Linked DNA regions of Homo sapiens: all the other regions are linked to region 2. Evidence: promoter capture Hi-C in human tissues and cell types (Jung and others, 2019). All regions are on one chromosome and are shown on one strand. The core of a region is centred on a gene start or on the middle of the fragment in contact, and the rest is flanking DNA. Distances in the headings are between cores, read along the strand shown. Region 1 has its middle 6.7 kb from the start of RNF138. Region 2 holds the start of TTR (transthyretin). Region 3 overlaps TRAPPC8 (trafficking protein particle complex subunit 8). Region 4 has its middle 14 kb from the start of DSG1. Region 5 overlaps TRAPPC8 (trafficking protein particle complex subunit 8).

Evidence for each region. The method cuts DNA at HindIII sites, captures the fragments that hold promoters and counts their contacts. A contact is called where the count stands out against the background at its distance.
Region 1: a fragment that was not itself captured here is called in contact with the fragment with the promoter of TTR in region 2 in 1 of the 25 tissues and cell types used here (thymus).
Region 3: a contact is called between a fragment that was not itself captured here and the fragment with the promoter of TTR in region 2, in 2 of the 25 tissues and cell types used here (H1 embryonic stem cells and dorsolateral prefrontal cortex).
Region 4: a fragment that was not itself captured here is called in contact with the fragment with the promoter of TTR in region 2 in 2 of the 25 tissues and cell types used here (heart right ventricle and mesenchymal stem cells).
Region 5: a contact is called between a fragment that was not itself captured here and the fragment with the promoter of TTR in region 2, in 5 of the 25 tissues and cell types used here (H1 embryonic stem cells, aorta, bladder and 2 more).

Annotation. Positions count from the first base shown.
Region 1 is chr18:32,083,870-32,086,569 of GRCh38, reverse strand. It overlaps a transcript of RNF125 not described here. Among named protein-coding and RNA genes, the nearest start is that of RNF138, 6.7 kb to the left of the region's middle. RefSeq lists an enhancer at 1,189-1,318. The HindIII fragment of the contact is 4,077 bases long and covers 1-2,700 here.
Region 2 is chr18:31,590,427-31,593,126 of GRCh38, reverse strand. TTR (transthyretin) reads right to left here and starts at 1,250. Exons shown (of 4, transcript NM_000371.4): 1 at 1,156-1,250; 2 at 101-231. The coding sequence starts at 1,224. The HindIII fragment of the contact is 7,126 bases long and covers 1-2,700 here.
Region 3 is chr18:31,858,271-31,860,970 of GRCh38, reverse strand. The region is part of intron 19 of TRAPPC8 (trafficking protein particle complex subunit 8); the gene reads left to right. Among named protein-coding and RNA genes, the nearest start is that of TRAPPC8, 84 kb to the left of the region's middle. RefSeq lists a silencer at 1-79. The HindIII fragment of the contact is 3,368 bases long and covers 1-2,700 here.
Region 4 is chr18:31,303,095-31,305,794 of GRCh38, reverse strand. No RefSeq gene overlaps it. Among named protein-coding and RNA genes, the nearest start is that of DSG1, 14 kb to the left of the region's middle. The HindIII fragment of the contact is 5,396 bases long and covers 1-2,700 here.
Region 5 is chr18:31,893,721-31,896,420 of GRCh38, reverse strand. The region is part of intron 11 of TRAPPC8 (trafficking protein particle complex subunit 8); the gene reads left to right. Among named protein-coding and RNA genes, the nearest start is that of TRAPPC8, 48 kb to the left of the region's middle. The HindIII fragment of the contact is 5,022 bases long and covers 1-2,700 here.

The sequences.
Region 1 (2,700 bases), core at 27-2,526, 490 kb before region 2:
CAGCCTGGGCAACAAGAGCAAAACTCCATCTTAAAAAAAAAAAATTAGAAATTAGCATGGTGTGGTGGCTCACACGTGTAATCCCAGCTACTCGGGAGACTGAGTTAGGAAGACTGGTTGAGCCTGGGAGGTCAAGGCTGCAGTGAGCCATGATCACTCCACTGCACTCCAGCCTGAACAACAGAGAACCTGTCTCAGAAAAAAAAAAAAAAAACACAAATATCTAGGTGCAGTGGTGTGCACCTATAGTCCCAGCTATTCGAGAGGCTGAGGCAGGAGGATTGCTTGAGCCCAGGAGTCCTACCTAAGCAACACAGCAAGAGCTTGTCTCTTAAAAAAAAAAAAAAAAGACAAATCTACTCCCCCATCTAGATGTTTCTTTGTCTATATGTGCTACGTGGAACTACAAGCAGGATGAAACCATGTAAAGAGCCAGCCGTGAAAAGAAAAGCCAATGTGCTGAAGGTGGTAAAGCTGAAAGATGGAAAGAATATATAGGTTCTTGATATATTAATATTTGAATTATTCAATTACTCTAGTCAACCCTGAAACTGCCCTCCCTCCTATCTGTTAATCAAGATTAATTAAACACCTTCTAGTTTGAGCCATTCTCAGTGGGTTCTTTGGTTATTTGTAGTTGGAAGTATCTGACCTAGGCATTTGCCTTTCTGCATCTCTTTCCCTGTTCTGCCCTTGTTGTTCTGCTCTTTTTGTTGGAGCTGACTCTTATAAACTGTTTCCCAGTTTCCCTTACCAGCTGACTTCTGGCTATATTCAGCCAATACGAGGCACCAATGAGAGATCAGGAAGGAAGGAAGAACGAAACCAAGTTACTTCTCTCTCTCTTTTTTTTTTTTTTTTTTTTTTTTGATAAGTCGTTTCACTCTTGTTGCCCAACCTGGAGTACAATGGTGCAGTCTTGGCTCACTGCAACCTCCACCCCCAGGTTCAAGCGATTCTCCTGCCTCAGCCTCCCAAGTAGCTGAGATTACAGGCACCCGCCGCCACACCCGGCTAATTTTTTGTATTTTTAGTAGAAATGGGCTTTCACCATGTTGGTCAGGCTGGTCTCAAACTCCAGACCTCAGGTGATCCTCCCACCTTGGCCTCTTAAAGTGCTGGGATTACAGGTGTGAGCCCCCTCACCCAGCTTTCTCTCTCTCTCTCTCTCTCTCTCTCTCTCTCTCTCTCTCTCTGCTTCTGGCAGTGGTTTCATTTCTTCTGCGGTTTTGGCTTCTGTGAGGCTGCACTTTCTTTGGTCCTGCTTCCTGCTGGGCAGGCCCTTCCTTTTCTCAATGCCTTGTGTATTTGCTTCACTGTCAACTTGGCCTTTCTGCTCTTTTAATGTCTTTGTAATTAGTTTCCCATATTAATCATCCTCTACTGAACCACCCTTGCAAGCTCCGCTTTCCTGATTGGCCCCTGTCCCAGTTTCCTAGCTGAATCAACAGTTCAGAAGGAGAGGAGAGGCAAGTGACAAAGAAATGCCGCAAAGTGGTTCTTCCTTCCCAAAGACAAGGAACTGGGTTACTTTTCATTGTAAGCTTAAATTCTCTCCTCACACCTCTGCAAAGTAGCTGAAATGGAAGTTCAAAAGTGAGATTAAATTAACTATAGAAAATGAAGGAATTTATCTTTTGAATTCACCCCAGTTTGAGACAGTTACATTTCAACTTCTTCATAAATGTCATTATGAACATGAATTTTCATGACATTTAATTTCATATCATCCATATTTTATGTATTATTATACAGCTTCCATTTTTAACAATGTTCATATGAGTAGCCCCGGTGACCCTGTTTATCCTGTGGAATCTGGCCTCTATGTTACAGTTGATTAGGATAGAGGTGAATATAATCCCAGCTTGTGATAGCCACACTGTGTCTCCCAAAACTGTGGAACTGAGATTCTGATATTCTAGTCAGTCTCTATCAAATCCCTTAATTTGGAAGGCATGTTAACACAGGAGCTGTGGGGCAGCCACCTTCTCCCTTGCCCAAACACACAAATCAGTCAGTAGAAAGAGAGCAAACCAACAATGAAACAGATATTCGGAATGCAGCTAAAGTCACTTCACTGAATAAACTATGCTGTCCTAGGAGGCAGAGCCCTAGAGTAGACCAGTAATGATGAATAGATTTCAACAAATCAACTCACATTTCAACTTTTCTTTGACACTGTTCTTGTTTTTTTGTTTGTTTGTTTGTTTGTTTGGAGACATAGTCTTGCTCTATCCCACAGGCGGGAATGCAGTGGCACTATCTCGGCTCACTGCAACCTCCGTCTCCTGGGTTCAAGCGATTCCCCTGCCTCAGCCTCCCAAGTAGCTGCGATTACAGGCATGCGCCACCAAGCCTGGCTAATTTTTGTATTTTTGTAGAGATGGGGTTTCAGCAAGTCGGCTAGGCTGGTCTCAAACTCCTGACCTCAGGTGATCCACCTGCGTCGGCCTCCCAAAGTGCTGGGATTACAGGTGTAAGCCACCGCACCTGGTCAGTTGTTTTTTAATCTTTGAGAGAAACATTTAAATTTGAAGCTAAAAGATCTTTCTCCATTTCTCTCTCGCTCTTCTCTCCCTTTCTCCCTTTCTTTTTCTTACCTTTTCTCCCTCCCTCTTTCCTTTTTTTCCCTTTTTGTTTTTCCTTTACTCCACATTTTTTTTTTCGAGACAGGGTCTCGCCTCTGTTGCCCGGGCTGTA
Region 2 (2,700 bases), core at 1-2,500:
TGTAAATTCTTTAGCAGATGATGTGAGCCTCTCTCTACCAAGTGAGGGGCAAACGGGAAGATAAAACCAAGTCCTGTGGGAGGGTTCTTTGGCAACTTACCCAGAGGCAAATGGCTCCCAGGTGTCATCAGCAGCCTTTCTGAACACATGCACGGCCACATTGATGGCAGGACTGCCTCGGACAGCATCTAGAACTTTGACCATCAGAGGACACTTGGATTCACCGGTGCCCTGGGTGTAGAGAAGACACGTGAGAAGTTAACAAAATTGATCAGAGTGAAAGGATTTATTCTTTGTGGTATTAGAAATCTGGAGCGAAACAAGAATTACACACTGATCCCATTATCAGGAACGTAAGTGTCGACAATTAATGAGCTTCCCTACTCAGTATAACACAGACGTAATTGTTTCCAAAGCAAGAATGGTTTCTGCCTCCAGACACACTGCTATCAACCAGGGATGTGTATAATGAATTTTAAGGGAGAAAATAGGTCCCCTGAGAACAGTTGCTTTGTTAAAAGTCTCCATTTGAGTGGAATTACTGAAAAGATGTAATGTACCATACATAGGGCCAAACAGGTTTTCCTGAGATCATTTTAGTTGTTGCTATAGTCACTCCCTCTTACCAGTTGTTATAAAATAATGTCAGAACTACATCCAGACCCATTTTATAGTATTAGTTAATTCTTCTAGAGGATTTAAGAATTAGATATCTGACTAGAATATTGTTCACTAAGCCTTTTAAAGATTAATCAATAAATACGTTTTGAATAACTATAGGGCCAGAATATAATCTCCTGCAGTTTGTCCCCCAAATACATTTTATGGAGGGATACTTTTCTGAAAATTCAGTATTAACAGCTTCCTTAATATCATATCTTTATTTCTATCATCTATCTGAGGAAACAGAGGTACCAGATATTACAAACCTAATGCACCAAAGCAATGAGGTAGAATGCTCAGAGTTCAAGTCCCAGCTCAGTAAGCTCAGTGGAACTTCATTCTTTTTGAAGTTTGAATTAATTATATTAAAAATAGATGCTGGGTACCCTTGCCCTAGTAATAAAAGCTGGTTGGCAAAGCTGGAAGGAGTCACTTCTACTTCATTTAGCGTGAATCTTAAATGTAGGAATGGGATGTCACAGAAACACTCACCGTAGGGCCAGCCTCAGACACAAATACCAGTCCAGCAAGGCAGAGGAGGAGCAGACGATGAGAAGCCATCCTGCCAAGAATGAGTGGACTTCTGTGATGGCTGCTCCCAGCCTGGGGCTTTTATACTCACTTCTCCTGAGCTAGGCTGCTTATCCCTGCCAATCTGACTGCAAACCTGCTGATTCTGATTATTGACTTAGTCAACAAAGAGAGAATAAGTAACCCATACAAATATGAACCTTGTCTAGAGAGATTAGAGCATCGGAACATTCGTTCTATGAAATATTCTTAATAGGTCATTTGACCAGTTAGGTCACCAAAACAAAACAACCAAAACAAAACAAAACAATCAAAACAAAACAAAAATAGTCTTCTCCCTGTGTGACTGCGTGCACTAACATTCTTGGGGGTAATTTTTTCCTCCCTCACATATTTCTATGCATGTTTTCCATTTTTATAGATTTTTTGTCTCTCATTTTAGATGCAAGATTTTAGACAGATGCAAGTTGTAATAATGTATTTCATGTTGAATGACATCTAGCTGCACAGGCTTAAATATAGTGCATTAGAAAATGTTTGCACTTGATGGATCCATGGGTCAACAAGGAAAAACCCTTGGCAGTGCTCACATTTTTAAAAGCCTACATTTTAGCCAAACTAAGTCATTTGGAAGCTTTGCTTAGTCAGCAATTTCTCCACAATGTGTGTGTGCATGTGTGTATGTGTGTGTGTGTTCTGCCCAGATAAAGTCCACTTCAATCTAAGAATGGCATCTTCCCTCCCTCCCTTCCTTCCTTCCTTTTTTCCTTCCTTTTTTTTTTTTTTTTTGACAGGGTCTCACTCCAACGCCCTGGCTCGAGTGCAGTGGCACGATCACAGCTCGCTGCAGCCTTGACCTCCCGGGCTCAGGTCATCCTCCCACCTCAGCCTCTTGCCCAGGCTGGTCTCGAACTCCTGAGCTCAAGCAATCCACCCGCTTTGGCCTTCCAAAGTGCTGGGATTACACGTGTGAGCCACTGAGCTGGGCCAGAATGGCATATTTCAACCTGGCATTGATGCCCCTGAAATACAGAGAACCAAATCTTCTTTACTGACTCTTCTGCATTGGGCATGCAGGAACAAGGCTGACAGCTGGTTTTTGACAGAACCAAACTTGCTGGAAGAAAGTAGAGATGACTGTGAGAACCAGAAGCCATGATTGACAGCAGATTCTTTTCCTCCTGGCCGACTTATTAATACAAGTCCAGAAATTATGATGATTTGATGATTCATTACTCACATACAAAGTCTCTGTGTGTATGTGTGTGTGTGTGTGTGTGCGCGCGCACGCGCATGTGTGTGTGTGTCCACTAGCATGCGTGGCTTTGTTCATGGATAAACTAAGGCAGGTTTTTGTCCTTATAAGACAAACATGTAGAAAACATAGAGAAGACAAATATTTTGGACAAATACAAGCCAAGAGCAAGTCCGGTTTGGAGCACTAAGAATTGAGGGAACATTCCCATAACTGATAGAGTCAGATTAGAAAAAATTCAACAAGAAATT
Region 3 (2,700 bases), core at 64-2,563, 270 kb before region 2:
TCTAAACACTGTGTATGTCTGGATTTTTATCTACAGATAAAAGCTATACTTTCAGCTATGGATGAAAGCAGTTTACACAATACTTAATTTATGTGAACAAGTTTGGGAATAGATAGTGACTCTTGAAAGGAGAATATGATGGGCATTACAGAAAGCCTAAAGCCACTGATGTTCAGTTCCATAAACATCACTCAGTATTTTCTTGTAAGAGAATAGGGAAGTTGGTTAGTTCAACAAGGTGGTATGATTATGATGGAAGTCAGCTAATAGACCATTTATCATATTTGGACAGACAGTGGAAGACATGAAAACTGGTGAAAAAATTCATAGAATATTCCTGTGCCTAATATTTCAGAAATATTTTATGGAATTTGAGATGTTTAAGGGAATAGTAGAAGTAGTTACCCATCTATACTGTATGATGAAATAATCTGTAACAATATATATTTATCAAACAAGGGTGAGAATGAAAGTTACTGTAGCTCATTGAGAGAAGATAAAAATAAGAGTCATTTGCATACTACTATGTGTATAGCATACTGAACTCAAACAATGAGCTATGTGGATTAGAAATCTTTCCCCCTAAATCTTTTTTTTTTAATACAATTGTTTCTGTTAGGAATAATTTTAACATGTAGAGAAGCAGAGAAAAGAGCAAACTCCTTTAATTTCTTACGCACAAGCACTATTATATATATGTATCATTCAACTAGACCATTTGATTTGTGTCTAGTCATTTTCTGTTACAGGCAAAGCCACAATGAATAATCCTAAGCATGTCATTTTGTACTCACACATGTATATCTTCAGGATAAATTAGAAGTGAGATAGTGAGTTCTTGGTCTTGTTTTCCATTTATATTTGAAGCTATCACAAATATCAACTATTTAAAAGGACTTTCAGCAACTGAGCATTTGAGGTAAAGGCTAAATATACTTGTTCTTTTTTTTTTTTTGAGACGGAGTCTTGCTCTGTCACCCAGGCTGGAGTGCAGTGGCGCAATCTCGGCTCACTGCAACCTCTGCCTCCCAGGTTCAAGCAATTCTCTTGCCTTAGCCTCCTGAGTAGCTGGGATTACAGGTGCGCACCACCATGCCTGGCTAATTTTTGTATTTTTAGTAGAGACGGGGCTTCACCATGTTGGTCAGGCTGGTCTCAAACTCCTGACCTCGTGATCTGCCCACCTCCCAAAGTGCTGGGATTACAGGCGTGAGCCACTGTGCCTGGCCTTGTTCTTCTTAAAGAGTCAAAATAGTGTATTTAGTAAACCTGTGTTCTGAAGGTACATGTGATCCTATACATAGTTGGTACCACTAGTCTTTTATGTGTTCTATCACTGTTACCATTTTACCAATGCTGTAACCTTCTTGATGGTATCTAGGTGTCTCTATGTATTTTAGTGTGTTTTTACACACTGAATACTCTATTTCACTTTTTGTTAATGCAGCTGTGTTGGATGTAATAACAAAATTAATAATTCCTCCACAAGTTTTAGCTCGACTATAAGCTTGACACTGACTAATCAGTACAGAGAGTCAGTGTCTTCAGTATAATGCTATGTCTAGCTTATTTTTTTATCCTATTAAATCTATGTGCGGGATTTCTACATTAATCCCTTGTTTTCTCATTTATTTTTAAAGCTTCTAATGTCCCCAAATTTCATCTGATTTTTTTCTTTTTAAGAATATGGCCATAATGAAGTCCCACTCACATTTAGATTCAAAAACATATTTTCACTGGAATTTCATGAAGTGACTGCCAGCTATAACTTTATTAGAACATTTCACTCATATTGTTACCTTTATCTTCCTGCTTGCTTAGATGTTAGTTGTGACATTTAAATATCTGTTTTTTTGTTTGTTTGTTTGTTTGTTTTTTGAGATGGGGTCTCACTCTGTCACCCAGGCTGGAGTGCAGTGGCACAATCTTGGCTCACTGCAACCTCTGCTTCCTGGGCTCGAGCAGTCCTCCCACTGCAGCCTCCCCAGTAGCTGGAACCACAGGCGTGCGGCTCATTTTTTGTAGTTTTGATAGAAACAGGTCTCACCATGTTGCCCAGGCTGGTTTTGAACTCCTGAGCTCAAGGGATCCACCAACTCTGGGATCCACCAACTCTGGCCTCCCAAAGTGTTGGGATTACAGGCATCAGCCACTGTGCCCAGCCAGTATACTTAAAGATCTTTTAAATGCAGATAACTTACTGTATGATTTCATTAGCCCAAATTTCTGTCTCTTTAAGCACAAGTCCACAATCCCTCATCTGAAATATTGAGGCCACATGTGTGTTGGAAATCAATTTAAAAATTTTTTTTAGAAGTGTGTGTGTGAAGTTATGTAAACCCCATTGCTTTGTGGCAGCACCTAGTAACCAAACATTAATATTTCTTGCATGAACTGTATTAATATCACACTAAATGGGAAAGAATATAAAAAGCCTCTATTAGGTCAGGTTTTGCCCCCACATGAGTTACTAAAAGCCTGAGGTTGGAGTTTTTTGGATTTTAAAATTATGGATATGAAATCATAGATCTGCCCATTCTTTCACTTTAAAACCCATAGTAAATCTGGCATATCTTTTCATCTTGATGATATAGACATAAGTAGTTGAGCTGCTTCTTTAGTTGACAGTTATAAGGGTTATAAAACTGATATTTACTTCATATAGCCGTGTTAAATTACTTTCAACTTTTCTGGTCCATA
Region 4 (2,700 bases), core at 30-2,529, 290 kb after region 2:
ATCAAGTATGTAGAATAATGGGCCCAATGTGAACACTTGTGTATAAAAATAAAAATATGTTGTGTGGATGTATTTTATATATGCATAGAAGTTTTTTGGAATTATTCACTAAAATCTGTTAACTGAAGAAATAATTGTATGCTTAATTTTCTATTCTTCTGATACATTTCTACAGTTCACTGTTAATAGGCCTTTGTTTTATAACAAAAAGTAAAAATATTTTAAGCTTCATAATTGACTTTCTGGAGTAGTGTACATACATAGTATTGGTGCAGCAACTCAATGAGATGATGTTTTGTCCATCTGAAGATAGAGATGAGGATTAAAAATGCATATATAAAAGTCGTCAGTTTAAAGGTATTAATGAAATCGCGTAAGTGGAGGAAATCATTTAGGGAGAGCTGAAGAGAAAGACATGAAAATATCTGAAGAGCAAACTGGCTTGTCCACATTTGCTTAGAAAGAAGAAGAGTCAGCAAAGGAGACAGAAAGGTGCTTCAAAGAAGTCATAGAACTAGCTCAGTCCAATGTAATTTAAATCAAAGGCAATGCTTCAAGGTAAAAAGTTTCCATATGACTCCTGAAGAGAGGAGAATAGGAAGAGCACTGAAATTCCCCTGACGTTCTTTCCAACTTTCTGAATGTTACTTTTCTGTTTCTTCGCCAGTACATTCTTCTCTAACCACCCATTCAATGTATCGTCACATGAAGCTTGGGTCTGTGTCCCTCTTTCCTGTTTGTTGTCCCTCCCAAAAGTGATCTCATGCAAATAACAACTTATAGATAGATCTATCCGGTCCAGGTCTTTTCTCCTGAACTCCAAACCTATACATCCAATTGCCTACTTGACATTTATCTTGGAAGTTTCAAATACAATTCAAACTCAATGTGTTGGAAATTCATTCTCACCTTCACCAGTGATCACTTCCCAGAAAATAATACCCCCATCTATCTAGTTGTGCAAGAGAGAAGCCCAAGAGATATTATCAACATTCTTTTTTTCCTACCCTTCTATTTTAACCCATCACCAAGGTCTATTGATTTTTTACATCCAAAATATCTGTCAAGTTCATTCACTTTTTTCCATGTTGACTATCACTATGTTAGCCAGGTGATTATTGTCCTTCAGCAGGATTGTTGTAACTTTCTGACAGGCCTGCATCTATGCTGGCCAGCTGCCAATCTGTTTACTACACTAAAGGTGGAAAAATAATTTCAAAGAGCAAACCTAAGCATATCAATCTGTTTTTTAAAAAAAGACACCTCTTGGTAACTTTTAGAATAAAGGGGAAAAAGAGTCCTTCGTCTGGGCTGCAAGGTCCTGCATTGTCTAACACTTGCCCACTCTCCAGTCTCACCTTTTACCACATTCAGTCCAGAAGGAGTTCTTGGGACCCTTGTCCATCTCCTCTTTCACATCTGTCATAGTTGCCAAGTTTACAGGTATTTGTGTGATTATTACTCTCTGTCCTCACTACTAGATTGTTATATCCATGAGAACAAGAAAAACGTTTTAATCAAAACTGTGTTCTTGGAACCTAGCATATAATATTGCTCAATAAATATTTTTGAATTAATGGATAAATGAATGAAAGCAAAGTGGAGTTTCAAGAAGAAAGTGTATGTTTCAATCTTCGTTCAGAGATCTAAGAAGATGGAATTAAATCCTAAAGAAGCCAAGAAATTTGGAAATAGATGATTGTTGGAGAATTCCAGAAACACTTAGAATTATGTGGAGGTGAGCATTGGCAAGAATATCCAAACAGACTATGGGGTATGTTCTGGAAAGGGAAGGAAGCAAAGAATAGATCCCTTATGTGACTAATTCTGAAGAAATGCAGAGTATGACTTCGGAGTCTGTGAGGTCAAAAGACATATGTATTTTTAATACAAGCAAAGGAATGAGATTTTCAGAAGGATAGTAGATTGTGGTCCTAAAACTTTCATATTTGAGTTTAGATGTATAGAAGTAAAATGATTTCCTAAGGCTTAGGGTGTGGCCATGAGAACCGGTGTTGATGATGGTAGGAACTGTACTTTAGAGCCTGTGTACATGCTCCCTGAGAAGTAAAAAGGGCCTTAAAGTGGGGGAGCATGGGTCCCTCCCTCTGCTTCCTAACCATTGCCTGGGATCCAGTGTAAACATAATAAATATTTTGAATTAAATTGAATCAAAGCACTGTTTTTTCAGAAACTCTGCCACTTTAGTTCTTAGAGCATCTCTCTAGACCGTATCTCACAGTTACTGCCGTATAAACTCTACTTCATTACAACTTCTTGAATGAATAATTAGTATTTTTAAAGCCATCTATTTCCTCATCCCTTCATCCCAAGCAGTTATATATATATATATATATATATATATATATATATATATATATATATATATATATATATGTATAGCATTTTTTTCTACTGCTAGGGACTTCAAGAATTACATTGCAGTTGCAGCCAGTAAGCAGCAAATCATTTTTGGCAATTATGGCAAGAGTTACAACAAGAAACAGGTTTTAAAAACATGCTCTGGTTCTTGGGAGGGTTTTTCAACTAGAGCAACTGCAAACATCATCAAAATTCCATGATATAATCAGCTAGGTGGTAGGAAATGCTGATGACTAACCTCTGGAAATGCACATGCAAGCAGTCAAACTTGTATATTGTGAGTCACAGAACTTTGGACTTAGAGTTAGTGGGAAGAAC
Region 5 (2,700 bases), core at 188-2,687, 300 kb before region 2:
ATGGGAGTAATTTTTGTTTTCAAGCTCTTAAACATTATTTATTTAATTAAAACAATTTTAACCTTTAAAAATATATTTTCTTTTTGTATCTCCAAATAGTTTACTTCTCTCTCTTTCTTTTGTTGTTGGTTTTTCTTAAACTTCTACTGTTCTAGTTCTCATTCTTAATATTTTCTCTTTGGGACTGCGGCCTTTTTCCTTTTGCTTTGCCTAATTTACTAGTCATGATACCAGTTGTGTACTTCAGATAGTCTTTCCTAATACACCTGTTTGTCCTAAGTGTCTCTGTTCTTCTCTCTCATACAATGCTGTAAAACCTGACTTGTCATATTATATTATATTGGAAATTATGTTTAAGCTTCTTAAGCTGTTAGCTTCTTGAGGGCAGGGAACCGTGTTGCCTTCTGTTTTTATTCTTGTTGCCTAACACTGGCCTTGGCACATGGATTAGATGCTCTACAAGTGTTTGTTGTAACTGAACCATTAATTCTTCTACAAAAGTTTCTGTAAGGTCTAACTAGTTAGGTTCAGAAGTGATATTTAAAATGTTTAATAATTGTTATTGCATGGACACTGACTAATAAATATGAACAGATAACAGACAAACTATTTGTAGAGCTGAATAAGGCTTTTGAGTATTTTGATATTCTCTATTATAATAAATAATCTTAACTTGGATTTGAATGTGTTGCCGTGTTCTTCAACCTAAGGATTATCAGTGAATGTAAAAAGAATTTATGGTTCAGGAGCTTCAATAAAATTCCTTTTTTTCTTCCTTGCTTAAATGATTTCAATATGCCATTCTATCCACATATGTGAATAAAATTTCTTCAGAGCAAGTTCTCCTGTCTGCATTATAACCGTGTTATTTTTTGTCATTTTTCTCTTCTTTCCAACTCTTTGTTTCCACTTTTCTTTCTCAAATCTGGATGATTTGTTTTATCATGAAAGTCTAGAAAATGTATCATTGTTATTTGCTGCCATGTGGTGGGGAGAGGGGGCAGGTGGTGGTGCACGTACCCAGAAATCGTGATTCTTAATGGCCTTTTCTGCTATACCTTTCATAAATTTCTTTGAGATAACTTGAGACTAATGATTATTAGGCATGTTTATAAATTATGTTAAATCTTTACCAACAATTTACATTTACTGTATGTATTTTGTTAACTAGAAAGGCTGTATAATATCAAGAGATGTACACTGGTTTTGAAGCTGGAGAATTGAGTTACATACTCTTGACATTCCTGAGCTGTGTTCCCTAGATTTTTGCTAATACCGTCATAGCAAAAGATAGTTAATGAGGCCTAGGCAAAAGGAGGAGCTGTGCTTTGACTTTGTGTACTGCAAATTTTTGGTCAAGTGAATCATATTTTTTGTTTTATGCCCTGGGATTCTCAGAATGGCAGAGCAAACCCAGTTTAATGGTGAAACATGCTACCTTTATCACCGCATAGGATGTATATGAATTTGGTGCTTAAGACATACCTACTTGTGTCTGTTTCTGTGTTGAACACTTATTCTGGTCTTATAACCCATTTTTTCTGTTACTATTTTAAATATGAAAAATCAGTTTCTAGGGATGCTAATACCAGTTTTTTGTAAGTTTCTTCAGCTTAGGAGTAACTGGTCTTATGGGAAATTTATCAGCTGATAGCACCTTTCCTGTTAACTTCACAAGTATGCAGAGATGAAATCTTAAAAGCTTAGAGCCATCTTTTGTTTGATGTTTGATTCAGTTAATTAGCTGCAACTGGTGGCTTTATCAACTGTGTTTTTATTGAAATGTTAATTGAGGCCTCTACCTCAGGTGATTTTTTTTTTCCTGTACATACTCTCATATTTTAAGTTATTGTTATCTTTTTATCTTTTGTTAAAATTATCTCTTGGTTGTGGAGAATTTTCATAGGCCAGAGTTCTTGTTGAAGTGCTATCAACAGATTTTTTTTTCTTAGTTTCTTATAGAACATAAACAAAACTTGTTATTCGATAGTATGAAATACACCACTGTATTAAAATTGTATCTTTCAGTTCATTTAAAGCCTTTGCTTTCTGGATAAAACCATCACTTTGTAAAAATCCTTTTATTTCTCTTCCATCAACACTGATACCAGTTGTCATTCTTTTCAGGGCAATTTTCCTCCTCTCAAAACAATGTTTTTACCACTTTGGGTGTCACAGTAAGAGTCAGGGTCCAATGAAGAATAAAGCTGGACCAAGATATGAAAACATGGTATTCAGCTCTAGAAACTGATTCTCAGTCAGTCTAGAAACTGATTCTCCACATGCAAGAGTCAAAATTTTGTTTCAGCCAAATTAATACCATGGAAGGCCATGGACTTCCACATCTGCCTTCAGTTGGTCAGTTCTTGAGTGTTAAATTTGGGAATGCTAAGGGTTTCTCATTTTGGTTTTTAACTGGATTGTGCGTTAGAATCATTTGCAAACCATTAAATATTCTCAGGGGATATTCTTAGCTTATGAGAATGTCCAGGATTGCTGCCCATCCAGGTTTTGCAGTTTAGTGAAGCTTCATAGGCAGTAAAAAAGTGTGTGTGTGTATATTATTTTATTTTATTTTTTCGTGTGTGTGTATGTATGCATGCATATGTGCAGTGTGCTAAGAATAGACTTAAGAAATTACAGCACTTAAAAAACTGAACTCTGTTGAGGCCTAAGTGAAATTCTGAAATAGAAACAATA